4 separate regions of the Homo sapiens genome follow, and regions 1, 2 and 3 are each linked to region 4. Evidence: promoter capture Hi-C in 16 types of primary human blood cells and fetal thymus (Javierre and others, 2016). All regions are on one chromosome and are shown on one strand. The core of a region is centred on a gene start or on the middle of the fragment in contact, and the rest is flanking DNA. Distances in the headings are between cores, read along the strand shown. Region 1 has its middle 26 kb from the start of SPDL1. Region 2 has its middle 6.8 kb from the start of DOCK2. Region 3 overlaps LOC105377714 (a long non-coding RNA gene). Region 4 holds the start of RARS1 (arginyl-tRNA synthetase 1).

The links. Contacts are between HindIII fragments. The CHiCAGO score rates a contact against its expected background, and 5 or more counts as called.
Region 1: a contact is called between a fragment that was not itself captured here and the fragment with the promoter of RARS1 in region 4, in 1 of 17 cell types (naive CD8 T cells). The highest score is 5.4, in naive CD8 T cells.
Region 2: a contact is called between a fragment that was not itself captured here and the fragment with the promoter of RARS1 in region 4, in 3 of 17 cell types (total CD8 T cells, naive CD8 T cells and activated CD4 T cells). The highest score is 7.6, in total CD8 T cells.
Region 3: a contact is called between a fragment that was not itself captured here and the fragment with the promoter of RARS1 in region 4, in 1 of 17 cell types (naive CD8 T cells). The highest score is 6.3, in naive CD8 T cells.

Annotation. Positions count from the first base shown.
Region 1 is chr5:169,605,938-169,613,211 of GRCh38, reverse strand. No RefSeq gene overlaps it. Among named protein-coding and RNA genes, the nearest start is that of SPDL1, 26 kb to the right of the region's middle. The HindIII fragment of the contact is 6,981 bases long and covers 2,155-7,274 here.
Region 2 is chr5:169,627,035-169,633,943 of GRCh38, reverse strand. No RefSeq gene overlaps it. Among named protein-coding and RNA genes, the nearest start is that of DOCK2, 6.8 kb to the left of the region's middle. The HindIII fragment of the contact is 3,172 bases long and covers 2,695-5,866 here.
Region 3 is chr5:169,563,551-169,570,891 of GRCh38, reverse strand. All of the region lies in intron 2 of LOC105377714 (a long non-coding RNA gene), which reads left to right. Among named protein-coding and RNA genes, the nearest start is that of SPDL1, 17 kb to the left of the region's middle. The HindIII fragment of the contact is 2,987 bases long and covers 2,446-5,432 here.
Region 4 is chr5:168,481,117-168,488,669 of GRCh38, reverse strand. It overlaps RARS1 (arginyl-tRNA synthetase 1), which reads right to left and starts at 2,199. Exons shown (of 15, transcript NM_002887.4): 1 at 2,127-2,199; 2 at 1-68. The coding sequence starts at 2,171. RefSeq lists an enhancer at 6,940-7,049. The HindIII fragment of the contact is 3,317 bases long and covers 924-4,240 here.

The DNA.
Region 1 (7,274 bases), core at 4,396-6,895, 1.1 Mb before region 4:
AAAACCTCTGGGATACAGCAAAGGCAGTGCCAAGAGGAAAGTTCATAGCCCTAAACACCTACATCAAAAAGTCTGAAAGAGCACAAACACACCATCTAATGTCACACCTCAAGGAACCAGGGAAACAAGAACAAACCAAACACAAAACCAGCAGAAGAAAGGAAATAACCAAGATCAGGGCAAAACTAAATGAAATTGAAACAAACAAAGAAACAAACAAATACAAAAGATAAATGAAACAAAAAGCTGGTTCTTTGAAAACATAAATAAAACTGATAGACCATTAGCAAGATTAACCAAGAAAAGAAGAGAGAAAATAAAAATAAGCTCAATAAGAGATGAAACAGGAGATATTACAATGGACACTTCAGAAATACAAAAGATTATTTACGGCTACTATCAACACCTTTACGCACATAAACTAGAAAACCTAGAAGTGATGGATAAATTCCTGGAAAGATACAACCCTCCTAGCCTAAATCAGGAAAAATTAGATATGCTGGGCAGACCAATAACAAGCAGTAAGATTAAAATGATAATTAAAAATTACTACCAAGAAAAAATCCAGGACCAGACAATTCACAGCTGAATTCTACCAGACATTCAAAGAACTGGTACCAGTCCTATTGACACTATTCACAAGATAGAGAAAAAGGGAACCCTCACTAAATCATTCTATGAAGCTAGTATGACCCTAATACCAAAACCAGGAAAGGACATAAGCAAAAGAGAAAACTAGAGTCCAATATCCCTGATGAACATAGATGCTGAAATCCTTAACAAAATAGTAGCTAACTGAATCCAACAACATATCAAAAAGAAAATCCACCATGATCCAGTAGGTTTCACACCAGGGATGGTTTAACATACGCAGGTCAGTAAATGTGATACACCACATAAGCAGAATTAAAAACAAAAATAGACGATCATCTCAATAGATGCAGAAAAAGCATTTTACGTAATCCAGCATCACTTTATGATAAAAATTCTCAGTAAAATCAGCATACAAGGGACAGACCTCAATGTAATAAAAGCCATCTATGACAAACCTACAGCCAACATAATACTGAAAGTTGAAATCATCCCCTCTGAGAACTGGACCAAGACAAGGATGCCCACTCTCACCACTCCTCTTCAACATAGTATTGGAAGTCCTAGCCAGAGCAATCAGACAAGAGAAAGAAATAAAGGGCATCCAAATCAGTAAAGAGGAAGTCAAACTCACTGTTTGCTGATGATGTGATTTTTTTTACTTAGAAAACCCTAAAAACTCCTCCAGAAACCTCCTAGAACTGATAAAAAAAATTCAGCAAAGTTTCCAGATACAAAATTAATGTACACAAATCAGTAGCTGTTCTATATACCAACAGGGACCAAGCTGAGAATCAAATCAAGAACTCAATTCCTTTTACAATAACTGAAAAAAAAAAAGAAAAAAGAAAAAGAAGAACAACTTAGGAATATACCTAACCAAGGAGGTGAAAAATCTCTATAAAGAAAACCACAAAACACTGCTGAAAGAAATCATAGATGACACAAACAAATGGAAACACATCACATGCTCATGGTTGGGTAGCATCAATATCGTGAAAATGATCATATAGCCACAAGCAGTCTACAAATTCAATACAATTCTCATCAAAATACCACCATCATTCTTAATGGAATTAGAAAAAACAATTCTAAAATTCACATGGAACCAAAAAAGAGCCCGCATATCTAAAGCAAGTCTTTTCATGGTTTCTGAATAGAAGTCTGATAGAATTCTTATCTTCATTTGTCTCTAAGTAAGGTATTTTCCCCCCCCTCAGGCTTCTTTTAAGATTTTTTTTTGTCTTTGATTTTTTGAAGTTTGAATATGATAAACCTACATGCAGTTGTAGATTTTTTAGTATTTATCCTTCTTGGTGTTGTTTTGAGCTTCTAAGATCTGTAGTTTGGTATCTGCTGTTAATTTTGGAAAAATTTTAGCCATTATTATTTTAAATATTTTTTCTGTTCCTTTTCCTCTCTCTTCTTCTTTTACTAATCCTATTACATGTAATGAAATGTAGACCTTTTGTAATTGCTTCACAGTTTTTGGATATTCTTTTTTTTTTAAATTTGTTCTTCTCTTTTCAGTCTGAAAAGTTTCTATTAACATATCTTCAAGCTTACTTGAAGATTCCTTCCTTGGCCATGCCCAGTCCTTTGATCATCAAAAACAATCATCAAAAGCATTCTTCATTTCTGCTACAGTGTTTTCGATTTCTAGCATTTCCTCTTGATTCTTTCTTAGAGTTTCTCTCTCTTGGTTTACATTACCCATCCATACTTGACTGCTGTCCACTGTTTCCATTACAGCTCTGGGCATATTAGTCATAGTTATTTTAAATTCCTGACCTGATCACCTAAAATTCCTGTCATATTCGAGTCTGCATCTGATTCCTGCTTGATTCTCTACAGTGTGTTTTTGCCTTTTGGTATGCCTTGTAAATTTTTTTGAAAGCCAAACCTAATATATTGAGTAAAACGAAGTGATGAGTTTTTGTTTATCTGGCTAGGGTTTTGGCTGTGTTTGTTTGCCGTAGCTATGGTTTAAGCCCAGTTTTTTGAGGGTTTTATCATGAAGATATGTTGACTTTTTTTTTTTTTTTTTTTTTTGAGACTGAGTTTCACTCTTGTTGCCCAGGCTGGAGTGCAATGGCGCGATCTCAGCTCACCGCAACCTCCGCCTCCCAGGTTCAAGCAATTCTCCTGCCTCAGCCTCCTGAGTAGCTGGGATTACAGGCATGCACCACCATGCCCAGCTAATTTTTTTTTTTTTTGTATTTTTAGTAGAGATGGGGTTTCTTCATGTTGAGGCTGGTCTCGAATTCCCGATCTCAGGTGATCCGCCCACCTCAGCCTCCCAAAGTGCTGGGATTACAGGCGTGAGCCACCGCGCCCGGCCGATATGTTGACTTTTATCAAATGTTTTTACAGCATCAATTGAATTGAATTTTTGTTCTTCATTCTGCTGCTAAAATGTTATCACATTGATTGATTTGTGTATGTTGAACCATTCTTGCATCCCAGGGATAAATCCCATTTGGTCATGATGAATGAACTTTTTAATGTGTTGTTGAATATCCTTTTTTGGGCTATTTTAAAAATAATTCATTGTGTAAAAACTTGGGTTTGCTGCTGATAGCCTTTTGAACTCTACAGCCTGTGGCTGGGGGAGAGTCATGCAAGCACTCCCTTAGCTGCTTTGGCTGGTGTCCTGGTAGGTCATGTGCCCCCCAGTCCACTGGCTCTGAGTCCTGCTCAGCAGCAGGACTCACGTAGGAGTTGCAGTCCTTGTGACCTAGTCTGAGTTTCAAGTTGACTTAGGATGCCAGAATACTTTAGCCTGGTGGTGAGGCTTGTCGGAACTCAAGTTCTGGCTGCTTGGATATGCAACTCCCCTCTGGCTAGAGCTAGTATATATGCTCCCTCTGTGGGTGGGCACCAGCTGAGTTACGCTAGTTTTGCTTTCCACTGTGACAGAGCAGCACTGAGTTTAACGCAAAGTCTAATAATTGCTGTGCTTTTCCTCCCCAAGCACACAGATCCTTTTCTCTGTGCCATGTGGAGGATGGCAGAGAGGAGGAATCAGCAATTCAAGACTGTCTTTCCTACCCCCTTCAGTGCCTCTTTCAGTAATATGAAGCTAAAATCAGGTACTCTGAGTGCTCACCTGATTTTTGTGATTTTTAGTTGTTATGAAGGTTCTTTTTTTGTGTGTAGATAGTTGTTAAATTTGGTGTTCCAGTGGAGCCTTCTATTTGTCATCTTGCTCCCCACCCTTCTGCGGGATATCTTTTTACCCACTAAATAGTGTCATTTGATGCACAAAAGTTTTTAATTTTGATGAAGACCATTTTACCTATTTTTTCTTTTGTTGCTTGTGCTTTTCATGTTATATATAAGAAATCATAGTGAAATCCAAGTAACAAAGATTTAGCCTTATGTTTTCTATTAAGGGTGTTATAGTTTACTTCTTACATTTGGATCTTTGATTCATTTTGAACTTATACTTACATATGAGGTGATGTAAGGGTCTAACTTCATTCTTTTGCATGTGGTTATCAAGTAGTTCCAGCATCATTTGTTGAAGAAACTCTTCTCTCCCCATTAAATGGTCTTGCTACCATTGTTAAAAATCAATTGATCATACATGTATAGGTTTATTTCTGATTTACTTATAGTCTCATTTATTTCTCAATTATATTCCATTATCTATGTCTATCTTTATGCCAGTTCCACACTGTTTCGTTTCTTGTCTCTTTACTAAGTTTTTAAATAGGAACATGTAAGTCCTCTAACTCTGTTTCTTTTTTTTTTTTTTCAAGATTGTTTTGGCTATTGGGGTCTCTTGCAATTTTGTATAAATTTTAGAATCACGTTTTCATTGGGGTTTTGATAGGAATTGTATTGAAGCTGTAGATCACTTTGGGTATCCCCTGCCAAAATTCATATTTCAAAATACGAACTCCCAATGTGATGGCATTAGGAAGTGGTGCCTTTGGGAGGTAATTAGATCATGAGGGCTCCACCCTCATGAATGGGGTTAGTGCCCTTATAAAAAGACACACAAACTTATTCTCTGTCTCTGCTCTTCAGCATGTGGAAGATACAAGAAAATTGCCATTTGCAGACCAGAAAGTGAGCCCTCAGCAGGTACTGGATCTGCTGGCACCTTGATCTTGAACTGTCTAGCATTCAGAACTGTGAGAAGAAATGTTAGTTGTTTAAGCTATCCGGTCTACAATAATTTGCTACAGCAGTCCAAACTGACTAAGACAGAAAGTATTGCCATCTTAACAATATTAAGTCTTTCAATCCATGTACATGAGATATCTTTCCATTAATTTAGGTCTTTAACTTCTTTCAATAATACTTGGTAGTTTTCAGTGTGTTAAAGTTTCACTTCCTTGGTTAAATTTATTCCTAAGAGCTTGTTCTTTCTGGTGCTGCTTAAATAATTTTCTTAATTTCATTTTCTAATTGTTCATTGCTAGTGTGTAAGAAAACTAGATTTTTATATGTTGATTTTGTATACTGCAACTACTGAAATCATTTATTAGCTCTAATAGATTTTTGGAGAATTCTTTAATATTTTCTATGTGAAAGATGATGTCATCTGTGAATATAGATATTTTTACTCCTTCTTTTTTGATTTGGATGCCTTTTGTTTCTTTTTCTTGTCTAACTGACTTGGCTATCAATTTCAGTACAACGTTGAATATAAGTGTCAAGATAAGACATCCTTTTCTTGTTCCTGATATTACGGGAAGAGCTTTCAGTCTTTTACCAGTATGATTTTTTCATACTTTCATTATTTTTTTCATTAATGCCCTTTAATTAGTTTGGAAGTTCCTTTCTATTTCCAGTTTGTTGAGTGTTTTAAAAATCATAAACATATACTGGATTTTTTCAAATGCTTTTTCTGTGTCAATTGAGGTAATCATGTCAGGGGTGTTTCCCCCTCTTTGTTCTGTTACTATGGTGTGTGTATTGGTTCAAATACTATCCCCCCAAAATTTATCCACTCAGAACCTCAGAATGTGACCTAATTTTGAGTATGGTCTTTGCAGATATAATTAGTTAGGGATCAAGATGAGATCATACTTAGTTAAGGTGTCCTTATAAGAAGAGGAGAGGACACACAGAGATGGAGATGTGGGCTGTGTGAAGACAGCCAGACATTGGAGTGATGGCTAAGAATGCCAAAGATTGCTGGGAGCCACCAAAAGTAGGGAAATATTTCTTCTCTATTGCCTTCAGTGGGAGCAAGACCATGCCAACAACTTGATTTCAGACTTCTAGCCTCCAGAACTATAAAACAGTACATTTTTATTGTTTTAAGCCATTCAATGTGTGGTAATTCATTTCACCAGAAACTAATACAGTATATTACATTGGTTTTCCTGTTTTAATTTACCGTTGCATTCCTGGGACAAATCCCACTTGGTCATGGTGTATAATTCAGTATGCTGCTGGATTGAATTTGCTAGTATTTTTTTTATAGATTTTTTGCATTTATATTCATAAGGGATATTGGTTTGTAGTTTTCTTCTGATGTCTTTGGCTTTGGAATTAGGACAATACTTTCCTCATAGAATTAGTTAGGAAATAATCTCCTTTGATGTTTTGGAAGAGATTGAGACATACTAGTTTTAGAAAGATAAGCTCTTTTTTAAGTATTTGGTAGAGTTCACTAGTGCAACCATCTGGTCCTGAGCTTTTCTTTTTGAAAGTTTTTTTGATTACTGATTTGATTCCCTCTTTTAAAGCTCTATTGAGTTTTTTTTTTATTTCTTCTTGAATAAGTTTTCGTAGTTTGATTCTAGGAATTTGACTATGTCATCTAGTATACATAATTTGTAATTGTTTATAGCGTTCTCTCATAACCCCTTTTACTTCTATAAGATTGACAGTATTGTCCCTACTTCCATTCCTTATTTTAGTAATTTGAGTCTTTTCTCCTTTTTCCTTGATCAGTCTAGCTAAAAGTTTATTAATTTTGATTTTTTCAAAGAACAAACTTTAGGTTCCATAGATTCCATTGTTTTCGTGTTCTCAATTTCATTTGTTTTTGTTCTCATCTCTTATTTTCTTCCTTCTGCTGGCCGTGGATTTAGCTTTTTAGTTTTCTCTTCTTGTTTTAGTTCCTCAAAGTATAAAGTTAGGTTATTAGTTTGAGAGCTTTCTTTTTTAAAATGTAGGCATCTCCAAATATAAATTCCCCACTGAGGGCTTTTGCTTTCGCTACACTTAACAAGTTTTGTTATTGTTGTGTTTTCATTTTCACTCATTTTAAAATATTTTAAAATTCATCTTCAAAATATTTCCCTAGTGATTTCTTCTTTGATTCATCTGCTGTTTAAAGAGTGTATTGTTTTATTTCTACATAGTATTTGTGAATTCTCCAGATTTTCTTGTTGTTGATTTTTAATTTCATTCCATTGTAGTCGAGATACTTTTTCAACTTTTAAAATTTATTGAGACCAGATTTGTGGCATAACATTGGTCTGTTTTGCACAATGTTCTGTGTACACTTAAGAAGGTGTATTCTCCTTTGGGTGGAGTATGCTACATATTTCTTTAGGTCTAATTGCTTTATAGTGTTATTCTGAACGTTTCTGTGAGGATGTTTTTGGGTGAGATCAGCATTTAAATCAGTGGACTTAAAGCAGATTGCCTTCTCTAATGTGAATGGGTTTCATCCAATGAATTGAAGTCCTAGATGGAAAGACTCACCTACCCCA
Region 2 (6,909 bases), core at 3,031-5,530, 1.1 Mb before region 4:
ATAACAACATTAATCTATTTATGCAGAGCCCTCATGATCTACTAATTACATCTTATTAGGCCCCACCTTCCAACACTGTTGCTGTATTGGGGATTAAATTCCCAACTCATGAACTTTGGGGGGGGTCACATTTAAACCATAGTGCTATTTAATTTGGTAACAAACAATACACACTCCACTGTGCCTTAGAAGCATGACATTTGGAGCCCACTATTCTTTCTTTTCTTTTTGACATGGTGGCTATAGCACTGGTAATTTTTTTAAATGTTACCATAGAGAGAGATATGCACTTTAAATGCTGTGGAGTTGTAATCTCATCCTCGTGATTAGTGGGTTGCTGGAGAGCACTGTGTAGCATTGAAAACACCATACACAGTCCTTGTTGCAAATAGTCAACTCTGCCATTGTAGAATGAAAACAACTATAAATGATGCATAAATGAATGAGCATGGCTGTGTTCCCATAAAATGGAATTTTTACTTCCTACAGTTTTCATATAGCATGGAATGTTATCTTTATTTTGATATTTTTCAGCAGTTTAAAAATGTAAAAACTAGTCTTAGTTCATGGGCCATACAAAAACATGCAACAAGCCAGATTTGATCTGTGAACCACAGTTTGCTATCTTCTGCTATACACAGTTGTGTTGTCTTCATAAACTTGTAGCCAGTTGATCTAAAATACACTTTTTTTTTTTTTTTCGATTTAGGTTTAAGCTTCTGACATACAAACAGGCAACTTCACATTAACAGTGTGGTAAAGTATCTGATGGGAGGCCAAGAGTAGGTGGTGGTGCCAGAAAGCAAATAAGATTGAACTTGAGGAGCACTGAAGTTTTTTTTTCCCCATTCAACTTGTGACACAACCTATAATAGGAATCTCTTCCTTAAATAATGTTAAACAAACAAATTCAGCATATTAAAAGAGTTGAAAAACTGCTTTCAGTTGAAGGAGATGAAGTTTAGAAATTTTGACTGAGGGTTAATTAACTTCTTAATGGGGTGGCTTTTAGTGCAGAAATCTTTAAACTTCATATGGTTAGGAGATGGCTTTTATGTTTCTGAAATATGGGCTTTTCATTACAGTTAACAATCCTATGGCATCATAAAAATTTTTTGGCAAGAGAGATCAATAGTCAAACATAAAAATCTGACTAAAACCACTTAAAGAATTTACAATAATCTTGGTCACACAATTTTATTAAACACCATCTGTCAGTTACTTGACTATTAGGTAGTACACTCTTGATGACTATAACTTCACATACATTGTGAGGGATGACTGTGGGTAAAAGGACATCTCTAGCCAAGATTTCTGTTAAGTTCAGTCCTGTGTGTCCAACTACCTCCTAGACATCCCCTCCCAGCCCCATCAATGTCTCCATATTTCAAAACCAAGCTCATATCATAACTGTACCCTAGACTTGTCCCTCTTCTGACTGTTTCTACCCAATGTTAACAGATGAAGTGACCAGACTGTGCTTTAATCAGGTGCTAGAACCCCATCTCCATCACTTACCTAGCTTTGTGGTTTGCAGCAAATTCACTGAACACTTTCTGAGCCCCATTCATTGAATACTTACTGCCTTTCAATCCCTGATTTAAACAGTTGGCATGCATTATCTCGTGTCATCCTAAAAGCAGCCCCATAAGACAGGTACCATTATTACCCCAATTTTACCCCCAATTTGCTAATCAGCAAACTGAGGCCAGAGAAATGAAATCCCTTATTGTAGCCAATATCCACTATGATTGCCCATGAGTGCATCATTACCCTTCACTTCACTCGGGTCAGAAATTTAACTCATCCTAATCTTCCTTTCATTCCAAATGATAATCTCAAAAACAGCTGTTGAATCTGCCCTCTTCCCCATCCCACAAACTTAAGATCTTCCTTGAAACTTGGATTAGAGATCCCTTCCTCCAACCTTGCCTCCTTCCAATCTCTTCTCCATGTTACTTCTGAGAACCTTTGCCCAAGTAGTTTTGGTCTTCTCAAGCTTCTGGAATAATCTAGGAAAAATATAAGCAAAGCAGGTTTGTAATAACGTGAGAGGTTTAACAACTTTTGTGAAATGTGAAATAAAGACATTCCACAGGAAATAACTATGCAAAGCCTCAAGTATAGCCCAAAGAAATCTAACTGGACTCATGGTTTAGGTAAATTGAAGAAAACTCTTTCCCTAAGGCACAGCAGAAGGGGAGGTTTCTGATGTCCATCTTTTTCAGAGTCATATGTATTCAGGTCCAAGATTTGGCTGGATTTCACTAGTATGCCTGTAATGATTACTAAATATTGGAATATTTCCATACAGTTGCTAAATAGCTATATCTCAAGACATTCGAGTGCCCTCCTCCCATTCTTGCGTCACTACAGTGCCTGTCAGCTTGTTCTGAGTAGTTCATGGGGGTGGGCCCCCTACTGCACAAGTCCACCAACACCCAGCCAGAGAGCTCCTGGGCCCAGATAGGAGAGAGGGCTACCCGGAGTTAGCATTGGCACGTCAGTAGGTAGATGCCTAGAGGCTTCTGGTGTCCCACTGACCTGTGTCCATCACATGGCTGCCTTTGGAAACTCCATCCTCCACAGTACTAGTCAACATTTTTCTCATTGTCTCTTCTTGTGTTAGCTGTTACAGTCATGGCAAATAGCCGAGTATATTCTCAGCAGCTCAGACAGTCGAGAGCAAAAGCTTGTACTTACCTAAATTTTACTCACCAAAGAGGAGTCCACATTCCGATCAGGACCATAAAAGACTCTCGGTAAGAAGGATATACGCTCCCAAAATCAATTAGTTACAGTAAAGGAAGGAGGCCCAACAACAAAGATGGCATGTAGATAAGTAGGCATTCAAATAATTCTGCCTTCAGTAACAGACAAAACTCTAGAAGTGACTGTGGGAGTGAGGGTTGGCGATAGGGAGAATCAAGAGCTTTCCTGCTTACCTAGAGTTTGCTCTATCAGATGAATGTTAATAGCCTCATCCAGGTCACTGCGAATGTCACTAATTCATTCATTTTTATGGCTGAGTATTATTCTATCATAAGTATATTCTAAGTGAAGTAACTCAGGAATGGAAAACCAAACATTGTATGTTCTCACTCATAAATGGGAGCTAAGCTATAGGATGCAACGGCATAAGAATGACAGAATGGACTCAAGGGGAAATGGTGGGAAGAGGGTGAGGGATGAAAGACTACAAATAGGGTGCAGTGTATACTGCTCAGGTGATAGGTGCACCAAAATTTCACAAATCACCACTAAAGAACTTATTTATGTAACCAAACACCACCTGTTTCCCAATAACCTATGGAAATAAAGTATATATATATGTATATATATTTAAAAATGTTAATAGCCTCAAGCCCACTGCTAGTTAATGCTGTAGGCATCTGCCGGTGGGATCTACCTCAACTGTGAGACTAAGACGTCAAGGCCCAGATTAATATCTTTCAGTGCATCCTTCAAATACTTTTGCACACTATTTAAAAGTCTTAAGAATATTATGCAGGGCCATCATTCCCCCCGACAGCTTCATTTCCTGCCTCCTCTGCCCCTTCTTACACCACCTCCCTGCACCACACCCACAATCACCCTACACTCTTACAAGATGGTGCTGTTTGAAGTTTCCTAGAAGTGCCACAATTCTCAGATCTCTGTGTGCTGTAGTCCTTCCTCCAATAGGAATACCTCTTCTTGCCCTCTAGGTTAAGTAGTTCTGGGAAGATTTACTTGGTGACTCCCCCCACCTCCCAATTCCCCCTCCAGTTAGACAACCCTCCTGCGGCAGCCCATGCTCATGAACTACTGGTCTGTCTAGTAGTCGCAATGGCTCTTTCTGCAAAGCTGCCAAGGCTCATACTGGGTGCAGTGACATCAGCCCTGCTCCTTTTCCACATCTCGTTGGCACTGACTCATCTAGAAACAATGATATTTGACAGGGGCCAACTACTAGCAGTCCAAAGGCCAAATCTGGAGGGTGACATATTTGTTTAACAAGCATATTTTATTTTACAGTTTTTAATGTTTTTAAAAATTGCCAGCAATTAACAATCAAGAGATTTTACCTGAACTTCTAGATTTCTAGTCTCTCTCTAAATAAATGTAGACACTGCATTTCCACAAGGCAGTTTCAGCTGGAGGCAGCTTCAGCAGCTGTCCTTGAGTTTGAACATGCACTCTAGTTGCCACAATCTCCAATGCTGAGGCCAAATTTCAATGGCTATTTACCATTGTGCTTACACAGTTGTTTTTCTTAAGATAAAAACAAAAATGAAATACTGCTTGGCCCTGTGTTCTATCAAAAGTGGGAAAATAAGAGAGACTGAAAAGATATATGTTTCAGGAAACATGGGAGAGGGTGTATATATTTACAGATGTGAAGAATATTCTTAGATGTAGGTCTACATAGAACAAGTTCTTCTTAAGTTGCCATAATAACAACAAACCCAGTTTGCTTCATTCATTTAAGTTACCTGCCTAGTCCCCATAGACACTGAGTTGAGACCTTGGTGGGTGTATTACAAACGAGAAAGGCCAACAGTTTCTGGCCAATAAGGAGGCTTTGTATTGGGTGATAGCAAACCAACCCAGTTAGGTCTTCTCATTTCAGAAGTATAAATAGTAGACATTACTGCAGAAAGCAAATTACTTGAGCCAAGAGCGCCTCTTGAATAATCTCAATCTCTTGATTTTTTGGAGAAATCAATTATCTGGTTTAGAAAGAGACAATAGATTCCTCATAAGCCTTCATGTTCTAGCAATAAGCCTCCAGTCATCTGGGTGTATCTCTTCTCTAAGTCCAATACACATCTGCATGCCATGTTGTAATTGTGGCTTTACTGGACTTCCACCCATTCCTAGAGGCTGAGTGCTCCTTCATTCCACAAACGTCTATGGAGAACTCATCATGTGAAAAGTCCTGAGGATATATCTTGGGGAACAACACAAACAAGATTGCCACTCTCATCAATCCTGTAGGCTAGAAGGGAAGGCAGAAAATCCATGTACATAATACATTTTAATAAAGAAAATAAATTGTATAAAGAGTACTGTGGGAGAGTGGAAAAGGGGATGGTCTGGGAAGGGCTGTCTGAGAAAGTAATAGTTAAAAAGTGACCCTTGAGGAATCACCAGACTGTCTTCCACAATGGTTGAACTAATTTACACTCCCACCAACAGTGTAAAAGTGTTCCTATTTCTTCACAGCCTCGCAAGGATCTAGAACCAGAAATACCATTTGACCCAGCAATCCCATTACTAGGTACATACCCAAAGGAATAGAAAACAGTCTACTATAAAGACACATGCACATGTATGTTTATTGCAGCACTATTTACAATAGCAAACACTTGGAACCAAACAAAATGCCCATCAATGATAGACTGGATAAAGAAAATGTCGTACATATACACCATGGAATACTATGCAGACATAAAAAAGAATGAGTTCATATCCTTTGCAGGGACATAGATGAAGCTGGAAGCCATCATTCTCAGCTAACTAACGCAGGAACAGAAAACCAAACACCACATGTTCTCACTCATAAATGAGAGTTGAACAATGGGAACACATGGCCACAGGGAAGGGAACATCACACACTGGGGCCTGTCTTAGGGTGGAGGGCAAGGGGAGGGAGAGCATTAGGACAAATAGCTAATGCATACAGGGCTTAAAACCTAGATGACAGGTTGATAGGTGCAGCAAACCACCACGGCACATGTATACCTATGTAACAAACCTGCACCTTCTGCATATGTATCCCAGAATTTAAGTAAAAATATTTTTTTAAAAAGTGACCCTTGGGAAAAACATGTTCCTGGGAGAGGCAAACACATTTGTATAGATCCCAATGGGAGAACAAGCTTACTGTATTTAAGAAACCAAAAATGGCCTGTGTCATGGGTGTGCAGTGACCATGTGGTAAAATTTAGGTTGGAAGTTAGATAGGAACCAAATTACATAAAACCTTGAAGATCACACTAAAGAGTTGGAATTTTACTATAAGTGTACTGGGAAGTGAGAAAGACAGTCAGGTGCTGGCTAGGCCCTTACAGGTAGGCTGTGATATTCTCCTATTGAACATGAACAATTTCTCATGTTGAACATCAACATCAGGCAGCGCCAGCCTGTGACTGTGACGAATCTAGACAAAAATAAGACAACTCTGTAACCATGAGTGATCATAGACAAAACATGAACATTGTCCAAACCAAAAATGACCAGATGTCATTATTCTGTCATGGCTAACGTGAATGACTACTGATTTTTCCTTTTAATCAGTTTCAGGCTTAGCCTCATTCTAGTCTTCCATTCTTCTAGATGAGATGTATTAAGTTACCTAATCACAGAATTAACACTGCCTTCTTAAACACTACCCCAAATCACATAACACAAGTCCAAGACCTATCCATAGTAAAGTCCCTTCTAACATACTCTTACTGGAACACCCCAGGACTCCCCATGGTATGCAGCCACAAGCAATAAACCCAACTTTTTTTTACTGCAGGTGCATTGCTGGTGGTCTTTAGGTGGAAGGCATTGACAATGTCACTAGAGGATTTTAAGCAGGAGGTAATATAATCTTTTTAAAAAATTATTTCAATTAGAAAACAAATTCTATAGGTCAAGAATGAAAGTAACAAGGCCAGTAAGTGGTTCAGCATCCAGGGAAAGATGATGGTGGATTGGACCAAATGGTAGGGGCTCAGCAGTCAAATGCAAAATATATTTCAGAGATGGTATCCATAGGACTTGCCTACCAAGGAAATGAATATGTAGATCAAGTAGGCAGCCAAAGCCAAAGACCCAAAAATAAAGTAGCCAAAATAAGATAGAAGTCCAATTCTTTTCTGCATAGTTGGTATTGCAGTTCTATGACATTGTGAAGGGTGAAGGCTCCTTCTTTCT
Region 3 (7,341 bases), core at 2,690-5,189, 1.1 Mb before region 4:
GATTTCTTAGAAAGATGAAGCATTGGAAAGCACTGCATAGCTCCATGTTATCAATCAATTAATGTCTTCAGTCCTTTAATGTCCTCTGGACAGCTGGGATGCTTGGGAGAAGACTGTTGACAAGTCTTGTACGTGTGGAAGACACCATTTTACTTACTTTCCCTTTATTATGGAAGGAACACAAGCCTATCTTACAAAAAGATACATAGGACCCCGGAAGAACGATTTTTATTCTGAATCTCAATAAAATATTCTGTCACTTTGCTTTGTATCAGTAACTAACTCTTAGAGCAAACGTTCTCTTTTTAAGTTTTGGTATGTTTCTAAATAAGTCATGAATCCATTCACACACACACACCCACACACACACACACGCACACACTTCGACTCTGCATCTATAGACCTCTCCGTTGCAGTTGGGATGTGGTGTTGCTGCTGATGGGGTTGGACAAAGGATCCTTTCAGGCAATGCCTAGTGCTATTTCGTATAACATGGGAGTGAAATCCCTCCACTCTGATTTTCCTGCTGAGTATTTTGGTACATTGTCTCTCTTACTTCCTCAGAGTCGGGAGTGACAAGCTACAGCCTCAGGCTGGAGTGGCTGAGGCTCTAACACATAGACAGGAGAGCATTTAGGAGTAGCACAGAGTATCTTCACTCTGAAGGAAGAGTAAATGAAAAATCCCAAGCTGCTCCCAGTTGGTTCTTCTTAGGTCATTCCTGGAAACAAACTTTGATAGCCCAAACTCCCACTTCATGAATCTTCTTGCTTTTCCTCCTACAATGATGATTCTCACCTACAATTCTCACCCTGAACGAAAACGCGCTTGCACTTGCAGATGTTGGTAAGGACAATTCCAAAGGAGAGCTTTACCACAAGATTTAACTTCTTTGGAGAGTCTTAAAAATAATTTTTCAACTAGTTGTTCATTTAAAATGCTACTTAATTTGTAGAACAAGTGAACCTTTCAAATTACCTTACAGTTTATAAAGCACTTACAGATATATTATATATTTAGTAGAAGAAAATAGAGGTGTTCCACCTATGGGAAGTGGGCTGTGGGCCACTTAGTCAGATCCCTACTGACTAAGTGAGCCACTAAGTGGGCCCCTAAGTGGGCCACTTAGTCAGATCCCTACTGAGTGTGCAGTATTAATGTGCAATGTGCAAATTTGGGAAGGGAAATTCAGACAGGCAGTATAGCGAAGGAAAATGACGTGGGAAGCACCAGCTCTGAAAGTCCCAGCCTAGCACCGTGGAGTGGGAGGTCCTGCTGCTGGAGCCATACAGAGCTTGATTCTAATCTCAGCTTTGCTCCTCATAGGGTGGAGGCTTTGAAGCCACATTTCTTGGATCCAAATCAGGCTTTCACTACTTATTTTGTAAACTTGGTCAGCTTTCTGGTGTTTCTTATCTTAGGAATGGAGACAATAATACTACCTGATGCGTAGTATCGTGAGGACTAAATGAGATATGATGTACAATGTTGGGAAGGCGCTGGTGCATTTTATGTCTTCAGTAAATATTAGCTATTATTCTATGAGTGACCTTAGAAATGACCAGTCACATGACTGCCCCCTATTCACTGTCCACACATGTAAAAGGGGAAAAGATAATTGTTACAAGGATTCATAGAGAGCATGTGTTTTGTTAATTTAATTTTAACCTTTTAATTTAAAAAATTACAAATGCATGCAAAAGTAAAAAGACTAATGTAAATAACCCTCATGTGCCCATCATCAAGCTTCAACAATGATCACTTTTTGCCATTTTTCTTTCAATTATTTTCCCACCAGTTTTTGTTTCTGGGATGTTTTCAAGCAAATCACAGATAACATTATTTTAACTATGAATTCTTCAGCATGTAGCTGTGGAAGATTGTTTTCAAGATGACCGCAGTGATTCTTCCATGAGCAGCCCCTTTGCAGTGTGACTTTGCAGCTCATCCCATGAGGAAGTAGTCTGTTTCTCAACAACTTTGAATCTGGGTTGGCCTTGTAATGCACCTTGACTAATGAATGTGGCAAAAATAATGTGGGATTCTAAACCCATGCCTTGTAATTCCTAGGCAAAAGAATCGTCTAGCTGAACCTAATCCATGTTGCTGACATTACCAATTCATAAGTAAATAACACCACTAAATTTTGAGTGGTTTACCGTGCAGTGACAGCTAGCTAACATAGTAATGTGTTTTTTAAAATCCCTAACCTGGATCTTTATATATAACGAACATGAAACTTTTAGCTTCCTGTCCAAAGGACTGAACTCACAAGGCATGAGACATTTTATAACCCTGAGGGTGAGTGTCAGTAGCTGGGGTTTGTGTGGAAGTAGTATTCCATGACATTCATTCTAACCAAGAGCCTTCTGTGGCTGAATTATATATTCCAGCTCAAGTTCTAAAGGATACTGATCCTTGGTCTAAGATGATAGTTCCTAAGCTTTACTGGGTTACAGTCTCCTTTGAGAATCTGATGAAATCTATAAGAATTCTTCCCAGAAAAAATAATGTACATGTACACAGCCCCCTTGCTACACACACACACACACACACACACACGCACACACAGATCTCTATCTACCTATAGATTGTGTGTGTGTGTGTGTGTGTGTGTGAGAGAGAGAGAGAGAGAGAGAGAGAGAGAGAGAGAGGCTTGCTTATATCATAGGGTTTATGGACTAGCCAGTGCATGGATACCAGTTAAGAAACTCTACTGGGTGCTGTGGCTCAAGCCTATAATCCCAGCTACTTGGGAGGCTTAGGTGGGAGGATCACTTGAGCCCAGGGGTTCAAGACCAGCCTGGGCAACATAGCAAGACCCCTTTCCTTAAAAGAAAATTTTTTAATTGGCTGGGTGTGGTGGTGCATGCCTGTAGTCCCGGCTACTTAGGAGGCTGAGGCAGGAGGATTGCTTGGGTCCAGGAGTTCAAGGCTGCAGTGAGCTATGATTGTGGCACTGCACTCCATGTACTCCAGCCTGGGCCACAGAGCAAGACCGTCTCTTAAAAAAAAAAGGAGAAGAAGAGAGGGAGGAGGATGAAGAAAGCAGAAGAAGATGAAGAGGAAGAAGGAGAAGGAAGAGGAAGTAGGAGGAGGAGAAGAAGAAAGAGGAAAGAAGAAGAAAGAAGGAAGAAGTAGGAGGAGGAGAAGAAGAAGGGAAGAAGAAGAAACAAGGAAGTAGAAGAGGAAGAGGAGGAGGAGAGGGAGTGGGAGGAGGAGGGGAGGAAAGGGAAGGAGAAGGAGGAGAATAAACTCTGGTCTTACTTGAGCAGACCTCTACTTGTATACCCAAAATTGCATACTCAACTCTAACTGCCAAATAATCTGTTTGCCAGATATTTATTTCCATTGCTGTTGCTGTTGCAGCTACTTCTGAAAGAGGAGTAACTGTTGGTATGGGTTTCTGGCTGCATTTTAGGTTTAGGGTCTAAAACCTCCTTGAGCAGTGCTTGGTTTAACCAGATTTGGTTCAGGGTCTTTTGAAGCTCTGGGTTCATTCTTCCACCTCCCACCCCTTGACCTTCATTTAACCCAAGCATTGAGCAATATAATGCTCAGGAAGTTAGTTGGCAGCTGCCAGCAGGACCTCCGCAGCTGTACCTTACCATGCTACTGGCGCTGTCCAATGTGCTGGATCCTTCCACCATGTCTTGGCCTGTGTGCTTCTTGAAGATTTCAGTTGATAATTTATTGGCATAGGTAGGCTGTAAATATTGCCTTGGTTCATATTTTATCACTGCTTGATTGCTGTCTAGGCTCTTTATTTACCACACATTAGTTTGTTCATGGTCCTATTGATGGAGAAGGCTAGCCCTTTGGCCACTGAGTCTATACCTTGCTAATACCCCATAGGGCCAGAGGTCTCCAGGAATAGGTGAAGGTGGAAGGAAGCAAGAATATGTTGAGGACAAGAGAGGCAGCCCCAAACTCAGGTGAACTGAGAAGTTGGAATGCCTCTAAGATTGATATTAAAGTAACTTTATTGTTCAAAAAAAGAGACAAATGAAAGTCATAGATTATTAATAAACCTACAGTAGTACCCACCCCACATCACTGTCTTTCCTCTTACTTTGCTTTAGTCTTTGTAATAGCACTTACCACCTTGCATAACAATGCATGTTTTTGTTGTTGTTTGACTTCCTTCATTATAATGTAAGCCCTATTAGACCATGGGCTTAATTCACTGTTCCATCTCCAGAACAGTGGCTGGCACATTGTAGGTGCTCAGTAATTATTTTAATTACTCTTTGAACAAATGGATGAACAATCGAATGAACTGAAGGTACTAAATGGGTATTTTCCAAAGTTTTTTTTTCAAAATTTGTGCATGTAAGAATCTCCTAGAAAGGGCCTTTACAAGATGGAGCTATCTGGGATATATCTTTAAAGACTCATCTTTAGTGTCTGGAGGATTAAATTCCAGAATTGGATATTTAAGCTCTTTGAGTGATGCTGAGGCAAGTGGTCCTAGGAAAGTTGAAAAGTTGACTTATGTGATTCATACCCCCACAAAGATGCATACCAGGAATACTTAGCAAAACAGTAGTCTCATTTTTTCTCCTTGACAATTCAGGGCATGTCAAAATAATAAGTCGAATATAATCAAAATAAAAAATGATCAAATAGATAACTCAGTAACTCATTCTCATTTAAAATAGCTTTCTTCTGTTTTTTTTCCCCACATCTTTTTACTATTCCCTTTTCATAGACTTTTCTAAACAGATGCACATCTCACAAAGGCTGAAAATTCCTCTTAACCAGCTATTTCTTTCAAACTGAGAAAAATTTGGTAGCAGTCATTGAGAATGCAAAAAGAAATGTTTGGAATATTGTCAGACTCCCTTTTGCTGTTGGACTCTTTAATTTAAAGGGCATATAAGTCACCTGACCCCTACAACAAAAAATCCATTAAGCCTCTAAGGACACAATCAAATGATTCATTAAAAATATGAATGATTGGCTGGGTGCAGTGGCTCACGTGTGTAATCCCAGCACTTTGGGAAGTTGAGGCGGGTGGATCACCTGAGGTCAGGAGTTCGAGACCAGCCTGGCCAACATGGTGAAACCCCGTCTCTACTAAAAATACAAAAAAATTAGCCAGGCGTGGTGGTGCATGCCTGTAATCCCAGCTACTCAGGAGGCTGAGGCAGGAGAATCACTTGAATCCGGGAGGCGGAAGTTGCAGTGAGCCGAGACCACACCGTTGCACTCCAGCCTGGGCCACAAGAACCAAACTCCATCTCAATGTATATATGAATGATTAAAAAACACTTAGAAAATTTTAAACCTTTTTACATATTAAAGAAACGTGAATTAAAAGAGTAATGAGAATTCTCACTGCTGGTTTGGCAAAAATTAATGTCTAGAATGGGAAAATAGACCTTCCTTTACCCAAAAACAGGCAATTCCTACATGGCTTTGAACAAGCTTTCTAAAGAGCAGCTTGAAATTAATTGTCAAAATTTAAAGTGTGGATATCCTTTGGCCCAACAATTATATTTGAGGGAATGTATCCTTAGGACATTATTTGACAAGATGTATTTTCAAGGATATTAATGGATGGGCCATTTATCAAATCAAATATTTTAAGATAATTTGAATATCTACCAATTCAAGATTAATAAAATTAGTTGACATATTTCCATACAATAAAACTGGCTGACATTTATAGAGCTCTATTATTTGCCTGTCACTCTACTAAGTGCATTACAAGGATTAACTAGCTTAATTTGCACAACAATCCTGTACATAGATAGTATTATTATCTCATCTTAAATATGACAAAATTGAACCACAAAGAAGTTATGCAGCTGATAAGTGGTCACGTTAGGGGTGACACCCAGATGGTCTGGGGTGATCTGTGTTCTTAACAATGATACTTCATAATGGGATATAACACAGCAACCATATGCAGAGGGAACGAGGATATATTCGGTAGATGAAAGCAGATTTCAGAAGAACTTAGCATAGTTACGGAAAGAACAGAGTGGAGAAAGGAAGAAAATGTGCAGAACGCTTACAAAAAATGTTTTGAAGGGAATATACCAAATATGTAGGGAGTTACTTTTAGATGACTTTCACTTTCTTTTTATGATTCCCTACAATCAAAAATTCTTGTTAAATAAGCTTATATTTCTTTTACAATTAGAAAATATATTTTTTGAAAATCAGCCAACTGCTAGCCTTAATGTATTTTGGCAAACATTGAGGCAGTCTTTCCTGTTTGACTCAGTTGGTACTGGTTTTTCCTGCTAACATTTCCTATAAGCCAGTGCCTTCAAAAATCTCAGTTACTCAATAGTTTAATGTTGGCTCTATGTCCGTATTTTAGTCAAACCCTACCTAGATAACTATCCTGGGAGGTGTAATGAAGGAGATGTGTAGGGATATGAAGATATAATACAGAAATTATTGTGGTAGACATGGTTTCTTGGCTGACCCAAAAACCATAGAAAAGACTGGGATTTCCACAATTCAGGCTGGAGAAGCAAAGTCATAGGCACTTTGGACCTAGAGTTGGTCATATGACACATGAAACCAAAGGAGTTGGCTGCTGCAGGAGCTTCTATAAAATACTTTTTTTTTTCCCCATATAGAAAGATAAACCTGGATGGCACTCCTCCTGCCTCTACTAATCTTCCAGCTCTTCAGTCAGTCATGAGGATATGATTTTTGCAGTTGCGGCAGCCAGTTTGTGAACTTGAGGTGACAAGATAAGGGAAAGATCAAGGGATAGGCAAGGAATAGGCAAGGGATATGCTGACCCTAACATTGTGATGCTGCTGAGCAAAAGCCAGCTAAAGTCTACCTCCAGGCTGCTTGTTACGAGAGAAAAATAAAGCCTTATTTGTTGAAGCCACTGTTTACTTTCTCATTAGTTGCAGCCATGCATATGCCCAATGGATACAGTGCTCAAAATGCTCAGATATTACTCTTTCTTGAATTCAAGCAAATGTTTTATATCTTCCCTTGCAAGGAAATATTGTTTGAATCATTTTTAGGAAATCTAAAAGACTAAAATTCAAATTTAGAGTTCATCTGTTTAACTTTTTTTGACATGCAAAAATTAGTATTTAGGGAGAATAAAGGATTGCCACAGGGTTATAAGACTAGTGGTTATTTTCTCAACAGCAAAATTTTGCATGAGGACACCTTCAGGTGGCTATTTGTGTTGTCTACAAGTCATAAGCCATAAGAGTTATGGTATATGATGTACAAGATGATGGATAAGAACATTCCACAGCATCTCAATAGATAAACTTACTGACAAGAAATATGTCTGCTCCTTACCCTGAGCATGGGAACTGCTGGCTGATGGATTCACAGAAGATATGAGTG
Region 4 (7,553 bases), core at 950-3,449:
GAAGCTCCTAAACAGCCACAGTTTTTCAACCGGTCAATTTCAGCAGTCAGAGATTTAATCTCTTCTTCCTGTGGGAAAAAAAGCACTTTTTTCAGTCCATAAACTTACTTCCACATTTCCCCTCTCTACCAAGGCGTGGCATAGACCATGGGAATCATTAATGTTCCCTTTGATGAGCTGTGTTTCTTTCTCCTCTGAGATTTTTGCTGACGTTAGCATATTATCCTTAATAAGAAAATATTGGCCAGGCATGGTGGCTCACGCCTGTAATCCCAGCACTTTGGGAGGCCTAGGCAGGTGGATGACTTGAGGCCAAGAGTTCAAGACCAGCATGGCAAACATAGCGAAACGCTGTCTCTACTAAAAATACAAAAATTAGCTAGGCATGGTGGCGCATGCCTGTAATCCTAGCTACTTGGGAGGCTGAGGCAGGAGAATTGCCTGAATCCCAGAGGCTGAGGTTGCGGTGAGTCGAGATCGTGCCACTGCACTCCAGTCTGCTTGACAGAGCGAGACTCTGTTTCAAAAAAAAAGAAAAAGAAAAAGAATATATTAACCACACATACATGTGTTTTGGGAGACAGGAATCGGAGTAAGTATATAATGGGATATGCCTCATGTCTCATATCCCTAGTTCTTTTCTTTGGCTCGATAAACACTCTGATTTAGCAAGAGTAGTTAAGTTTCAGGTTGACCAACCTGCTTTTATTCCCAAATCCTATGACCTGGGACTCTTAAAAAACCCAAATGTCCTTTGTCACATTCAAAATAGCTCAAGGGTCTGCCTTTCACCCTTTCTGGGACTAAACAATTTTCCCATTTCTTCCTGTTTCCAGTGTCTTAGGTCCTAGACTAGACCAGACCAGGCTTTGTAGTTTAACATCTAAAACTAAAGACATGTCAATTCAGAAAGAAATAAAGCTTCCAACTTAAACTGCAAAACTCAGGGGGAGTTCCTCACCTGAAATTTCAGAATACTTACTGGGAGATAGCTACAGCCAAAACCAAATTGCCAAAAATGAGCATACATTATGTTCCAGGAGCTGAGCTAAAAACACTTTTCAGAAATTACCTTCATGATTATCACAACCAAGTGAGGCAAAGATAAATACATACCGATAAATAAATGGCTCAGAAATGTAAAGAGCTTGCCAATTTACTTGACTAACTTGTACTTTGTGACTGCTGATTAAGTATACAGCCGTAACAGGACAGAGTACTGTGAACTATCTTCCTACCATCCCTCCCCACCTGGGCATAAAAGGTAATGGAACTGTTCCGCTTTCACTTTTTTTTTTTGTAGGGGGACGGAGTCTCACTCTGTCGCCCAGGCTGTGGTGCAGTGGTGTGCTCTCTGCTCACTGCAAGCTCCGCCTCCCGGGTTCACGCCATTCTCCTGCCTCAGCCTCCCGAGTAGCTAGGAATACAGGGACCCCCCCCAACACAGCCGGTTAAGTTTTTTTGTATTTTCAGTAGAGACGGAGTTTCACTGTGTTAGCCAGGATGGTCTCGATCTCCTGACATCGTGATCCGCCCACCTCGGCCTCCCAAAGTGCTGGGATTACAGGCATGAGCCACCGCGCCCGGCCGCTTTCACTTTTATATGGTGTGGCTGCTCCTTCCCGACGAATGCTGAGGGCACAGAGCAAGCTCCGCTGGTCTGATAATGAATCACCCCATGGGCTTATTAGGAATCCTCTCGCTCAGTAACCCGGGAAGAACTGCGGCTGAGCTGCAAACCAAGACCCAGAGCTCTGAATGTATTCCCCCCTTGTCTATCTCCCCGCATCCCCTAAATCGCGTGTGTATGCAGAAGAGGAGGTGGATTGTAGGGAGAGAACTGTTCTGAACATGCCAGGCTCCAGCCCACCGAAGACGCTGGTTTGGGGGAGGCCTGGGAGAGGGTGGGGACCCTCCATTCCGCTGAAAATCACAGTCACACGGGCTTTGAAATGATGGGTGCTTCCTCTCTCAACCCTTCCTGTTCCCACAGGGACCGTGCCGCTCCACTCTGAGAGGACCAGGATGGTCCTCGCCTAGCTGTCCCGCCCCCGAAGCCGCTTGGGCAGGAGTCAGAGCCTGCTCCATCTCTTTCAGGCCTTCCCGCCGGTCTCCTGCGTCCAAACCTGCTGCAGCAGCCGCGCGGAGCACTCAGACACCAGTACGTCCATCCTCCCATCAGCGTCTCACTCGCCAAGTGGACGGAAGCGGAAACGGTCAGCCTCTCCCGGAAGCGGAAACCCCCTCCGGTCCGCTGTCCCGTCGGACTGGGTGCTGGCGCCTCTGCTGCCTCCTGGCGGGATCCAGTAGACACTGCGAGGAGAACCCGCGGGGATTTCGGTCAGGAGCGAGGCCGCAACTCAGGGACGTTTGGGCGAGGGGAGAGGAATTGAGCAGACACTAACCAGAGCTGCTCTGTGCTTGGATAGACTAGGACAGTCACTGACCTAGAGCTTCTGGCTCTCAAAGGCCTCACTTTGCCCCTTTGTGAAATGGGCACAAAACTAACAAATCCATTCATTTATTCAACAAACATTTATTGTGTACTTTAAAATGCCAGACAGTATTCTAGGCTCTGGGGGCACAAAGAAAACAAAACAGACACGATCTCCCCTCTCACGGCAGACACATTTTAGAATGGAGAGAGAAAATAGACCAAAAAAGGCAATAATCTCAGGTAGTTTTAATTGCTAGGAAGGCAATGTGATAGAGTGACTTGGGTGAGAGAAGACATCTCTAAGCAAGTGACATTTGAGTTAAAATCTTATTTATTTTTCCAGTTTTATTGAGGTATAATTGACAAAGATTGTATATCATAACGATGTACAACGTAATGTTTTGATATATGTATACATTCTGAAATGATTACCACAACCAAAATAATTAACATAACCTTCATCTCATACAGTTATCATTTGCATGTGTGTGTGTGTGTGTGTGTGCGCGCGCGCGCGCGCGCGTGTGTGCTGTGAACATTTAAGATCTATTCTCATCCTGGGAAACAGCTAAGACCTCGTCTCTACAAAAAAATGGAAAAATAGCCGGGCATGGTGGCATGTGCCTGTAGTCCCTGGTATATAGGAGGCTGAGGTGGGAGGATCACTTGAGCCCAAGAATTTGAGGCTGCGGTGAGCCATGATCATGCCACTGTACTCTGCCTGGATGACAGAGTGAGACCTTTTCTCTCTCTATTTAAAAACAAACAAAACGAAACGAAAACGAAAACTGCAAGTATACAATATACATTACATCTCTAGAATCTATTCATCCCGCCTAACTGAAACTTTGTAACTTTGAGCAACATCTCCCATCTTTCCTACCTCTGAAGCCCTGACAACCACCATTCTATGCTCTGCTTCTATGAATCTGAATTTTTTAGATTACACATATACATGGGCTAATGTAGTATTTGTCTTTCTGTGCCCGGCTTATTGCACCAACATAATGTTCTCCAGGTTCATCTATGTTGTCACCCATAACAGGGTTTTCTTTTATAAGGCTGAATAATATTTCATTGTATATATATTGAGTTAAAATTATAAACAGCAAACCTGGGATATATGTTCTAAGAGGGCAGGGACCTTAATTATCTTGTTCACTCTTCTCTATGACTCCAGAACTTAGAAAGTAGCACTCTAAACGTTTTCGCTTCCGTGCCTCATAAAAGTATTTTAAAAATTCATATCCCAGTGTATACTTTTAAAAGTTGACATCGAGCTAGGCACAGTGGCTCATGTCTGTAATCCTAGCACTTTGGGAGGCTGAGGCAGGCAGATTTCTTGAGCCCAGGAGTCCAAGACCAGCCTGGAAAAAATGGTGAAACATCGTCTCTACCAAAAATACAAAACATTAGCCAGGCATGGTGGTGTGCACCTGTAGTCCCAGCTATATAGGAGACTTAGGAGGCAGGATTGTTTAAACCCAAGAGTTTGAGGTTGCAGTGAGCCATGATCTGGCCACTGCACTCCAGCCTGGGCAACGGAGTGAGACTCTGTCTCAAAAAAAAAAAAAAAAAAAAAAAAAAGACATCTAAAAACTCTTTTCACAACTTCTGGGAATGGATTATTTTCTGGCATGATGTTTCATAAGTGCTCTCACTATATTTTCGTCAAAACTGTGGATTTGCAAGTTTAGCTTGTCCAATTTATGGAACATGTCGGCCATATTGTTTCATTGGCAAAGCCAGTCCTCTTTGTCCAATTAAATAATCCAAATTATTTTACTTAATTTTTAACAAGCTTAAAGTTTGCCTTTATCTTTTTTCCTTTTAAATTAATTAATTAATTTTACCCAGAACTATATAAACTATCCTTTATTTTGTAAATCAAATAAAAGTGTTAATATACCAGTCCTTCCTTATCCGTGGGAGATACATTGCAACACCCCTCAGTGGATGCCTGAAACCGTGAATAGTACCAAGCCCTATATATATACTATGTTTTTTCAATCCAGTAATTCAGAGGGCTAATAAGTGACTAATGGGTGGGTAGTGTAGACAGCATGAATTTGTTGGGCAAGGGGGGATTCATATCCTGGGCAAGACAGAATGGGACGGTGGAGATTTCATCATGCTACCAAGAAATGGCATGCATTTTAAGACCTATGAATTGGTTATTTCTGAATTGGTTATTTAAGCCTATGAATTGGTAATTTTCCACTTAATATCTTGAGCACATAAGTAGGGGGGACTACTGTGCATGTTCCTGAAATGGCATTTGCAAAATTATGACAGTAAGAGAAATTTGACATCTTGCTTCACAGGCTGTCTGTCTTTGCTCATTTCTGGGCATGGGCCAAGCTAACTTTGTGGAAAATTTAGTTTATAGTTGAAATGATATTAGCCCTTCCCCAAAATCAAAGTGTTCTTGTAAAACTAATGCAAGGCAACTAAACTATGAGAATGAGAGGGACTTGAATTCTAAATAATTGTCAGCCATTATTCTGGAGGTCAGATTTGCAACTTCTGCAATAACTCTTGCAGATAACATTACTATTGTAGAACCTAAGATTGGCCTTTTGAGATGTCTTTTCAGGTTTGTGCATTTCTGACAACCGGGTGGCCCCACCTGGACCCACCAGTCAGTCCTGTGGCCCCTACCCAGGAACTGACTCAGCACAAGAGGACAGCTTCGATTTCTTATGATTTCATCTCCAACTCAACCAGTTAGCATGTTCCCTACCCTACCCCACTGCCCAGCAAACTATATTTGAAAAACCCCTAACCTAGGAGCCTTCAGGGAGATTGATTTGAGTAATAACTCCGTCTCTTACACTGTGTGGCCAGACTTGTGTCAATTAAACTTTCTTTATTGCAATGCCATGGTGCCCATGAGTCAATTTTGTTGTGCAGCAGGCAGGAAGAATCCACTGGGTGGTTACATCACTCTGATACCTTATTTCTAAGTTCTGAGAAAGATGGAGGGAGGGATGGACAAGCTGGTGGATAGACAAAGGGATAGGCAGATAGATCTCTATCTTCAAGATAAAGGAGGAAATAAAAACAGTCAATCATTTTACTAAGCCCTCTTTGTTTAGCGCTCAAGGATATGCCCTGTGGAAAAATAGGTTCTTCAATGAGAACACTTGGACACAGGAAGGGGAACATCACCCACCGGGGCCTGTTGTGGGGTGGGGGGAGGGGGGAGGGATAGCATTAGGAGATATACCTAATGTAAATGACGAGTTAATGGGTGCAGCACACCAACATGGCACATGTATACATATGTAACAAACCTGCACGTTGCGCACATGTACCCTAGAACTTAAAGTATAATAAAAAAATATATCTATATATATATATAAAGAAAGTGTTTTCAAAAAGAAAAGGAAAAATATGTTCTAGAAGTGTCCCTTGTTCAATTCCTGTTAGTTTACACCCAGGCAATGTGGAGTCCTAATTTAGGGAGGGGGAGTTGGGCTGGTAAGGATGAAGGAAAGCAAAAAGAAAAGGCAGGTAAGCTATAAGTCTACCTTTCTTCGTGGTTCAGGATACATAGTCCTCCTGTGCAAATTACTCACCATCTTCCTGCACCCAGCTATTACCAGACACCTCAGCTGATAGAAAAATGCAAGTTAGCTCACTGCAACCTCAGCACTATCAGTACTGCACAAAGCCCTCTTAACACACAGCCCAAGCACCATTCTGTCAAATCCCGAGCAAACGTTTGTTTCCTGGCAGTCAGCTCCTCTCTTGCTGATTTGCTTGTTGCACCCTTGCAACATACTTTCCTGCTTTGTCTAATAAATCTGCCTTTCTTTACCTACAACTGTATTGATGAATTCTTTTTACCACCTGCGTGACACGGGCCCCAGAGAGTCGCTACCCACGACAGGCAATGGAAAAGGGTGCTATGCTTTTCTTTGTGGAAGGGGAGATGTAAAAGGAGAATTGGAAAACTGAGTTTGCAGGCCAATCAATTTTAGAAAAGAGTATACAAAAATTCAGGATTTCCCTAGTATATCTGGGCCCACAGATCCCTTTGAAGGGTCTTCCCAACTGTGCTATATGCACCTCAGGGTACAGGACTTCCAAATCTCCCAACCAAAAAAAGGGGGGAATTGGGTACTAGCCCAGGTGGAGAGACTGGCAAAAGTGAGAGCATATAGGAATTTGTAAGTTGTACAGGACTTCCTGTACCCCGAGGTACGTATAGCCCAGCTGGGAAGACTGTTCATCTTGTTGACCTAAAGGAAGAAACTGAAGCAAAATTAATATAAGTAGAGAGTCTATTTGGGCCAGGGTTGAGGTCTACAGCCTGGGAGTCATGGATTCAAGTTGCCCTGAATATATGCTCCGATTAGCAGCCGTTACAAGTGGATTAAAGATTAAAAAAAAGATGAAAAAGTTAGGATGCAGTTCCTAAGCTGCTTACCAAGAATTTACAATGGTTCATTAAAATAAGCTATCATTTGTCTATACATTGATCTTTGTACCACAAACCCCAGGAACGTGAAGATAATAGGTGAGGGTCACATTGTGTAACTTGTGGTAACATTGTGGGTAATTTATCAGCTAGTCTGAAATTACAGAAAACGAAAGAGAAAACAAAATGCCTCTAAGCAATTACCCCCAGGCATGGGTGCCGAGGATGTGACAGGTGTCTCCTGCTCCTGTCTGGGCCTAACCAATTTTGCATATCTCACATTCCTCAGACTGCTCTGAGCCACTTTCTCAATGTAGAGCAGTGCTTGACACAGGGCATTGCTCTAAAAGTGTTTCTTAATTGAATGAGTAGGAAGGTTCTATGCAGTGAGACTAGCAAATGCAAATGAGGCAGGAGCTAAGTTTAGAGTATGGTCGATGATGGACTGCTCATGTGATGATGGTACCATAAGATTATAATGAACCTGAAAAATTTCTATCACCTAGCGACAACCTTGATGAGTCTGACCCTGTGTAGGCCTAGGTTAATGTGTATGTTTGTGTCTTAGTTTTTAACAAAAGAGTTGTAAAAGTGGGAAAAAACCTCTAGAATAAGGCTATAAAAATGTTTTTGTACCTTTGTACGTTGTTTTGTTTTAAACAACTGTTATTATAAAAGAGGCAAAAAATT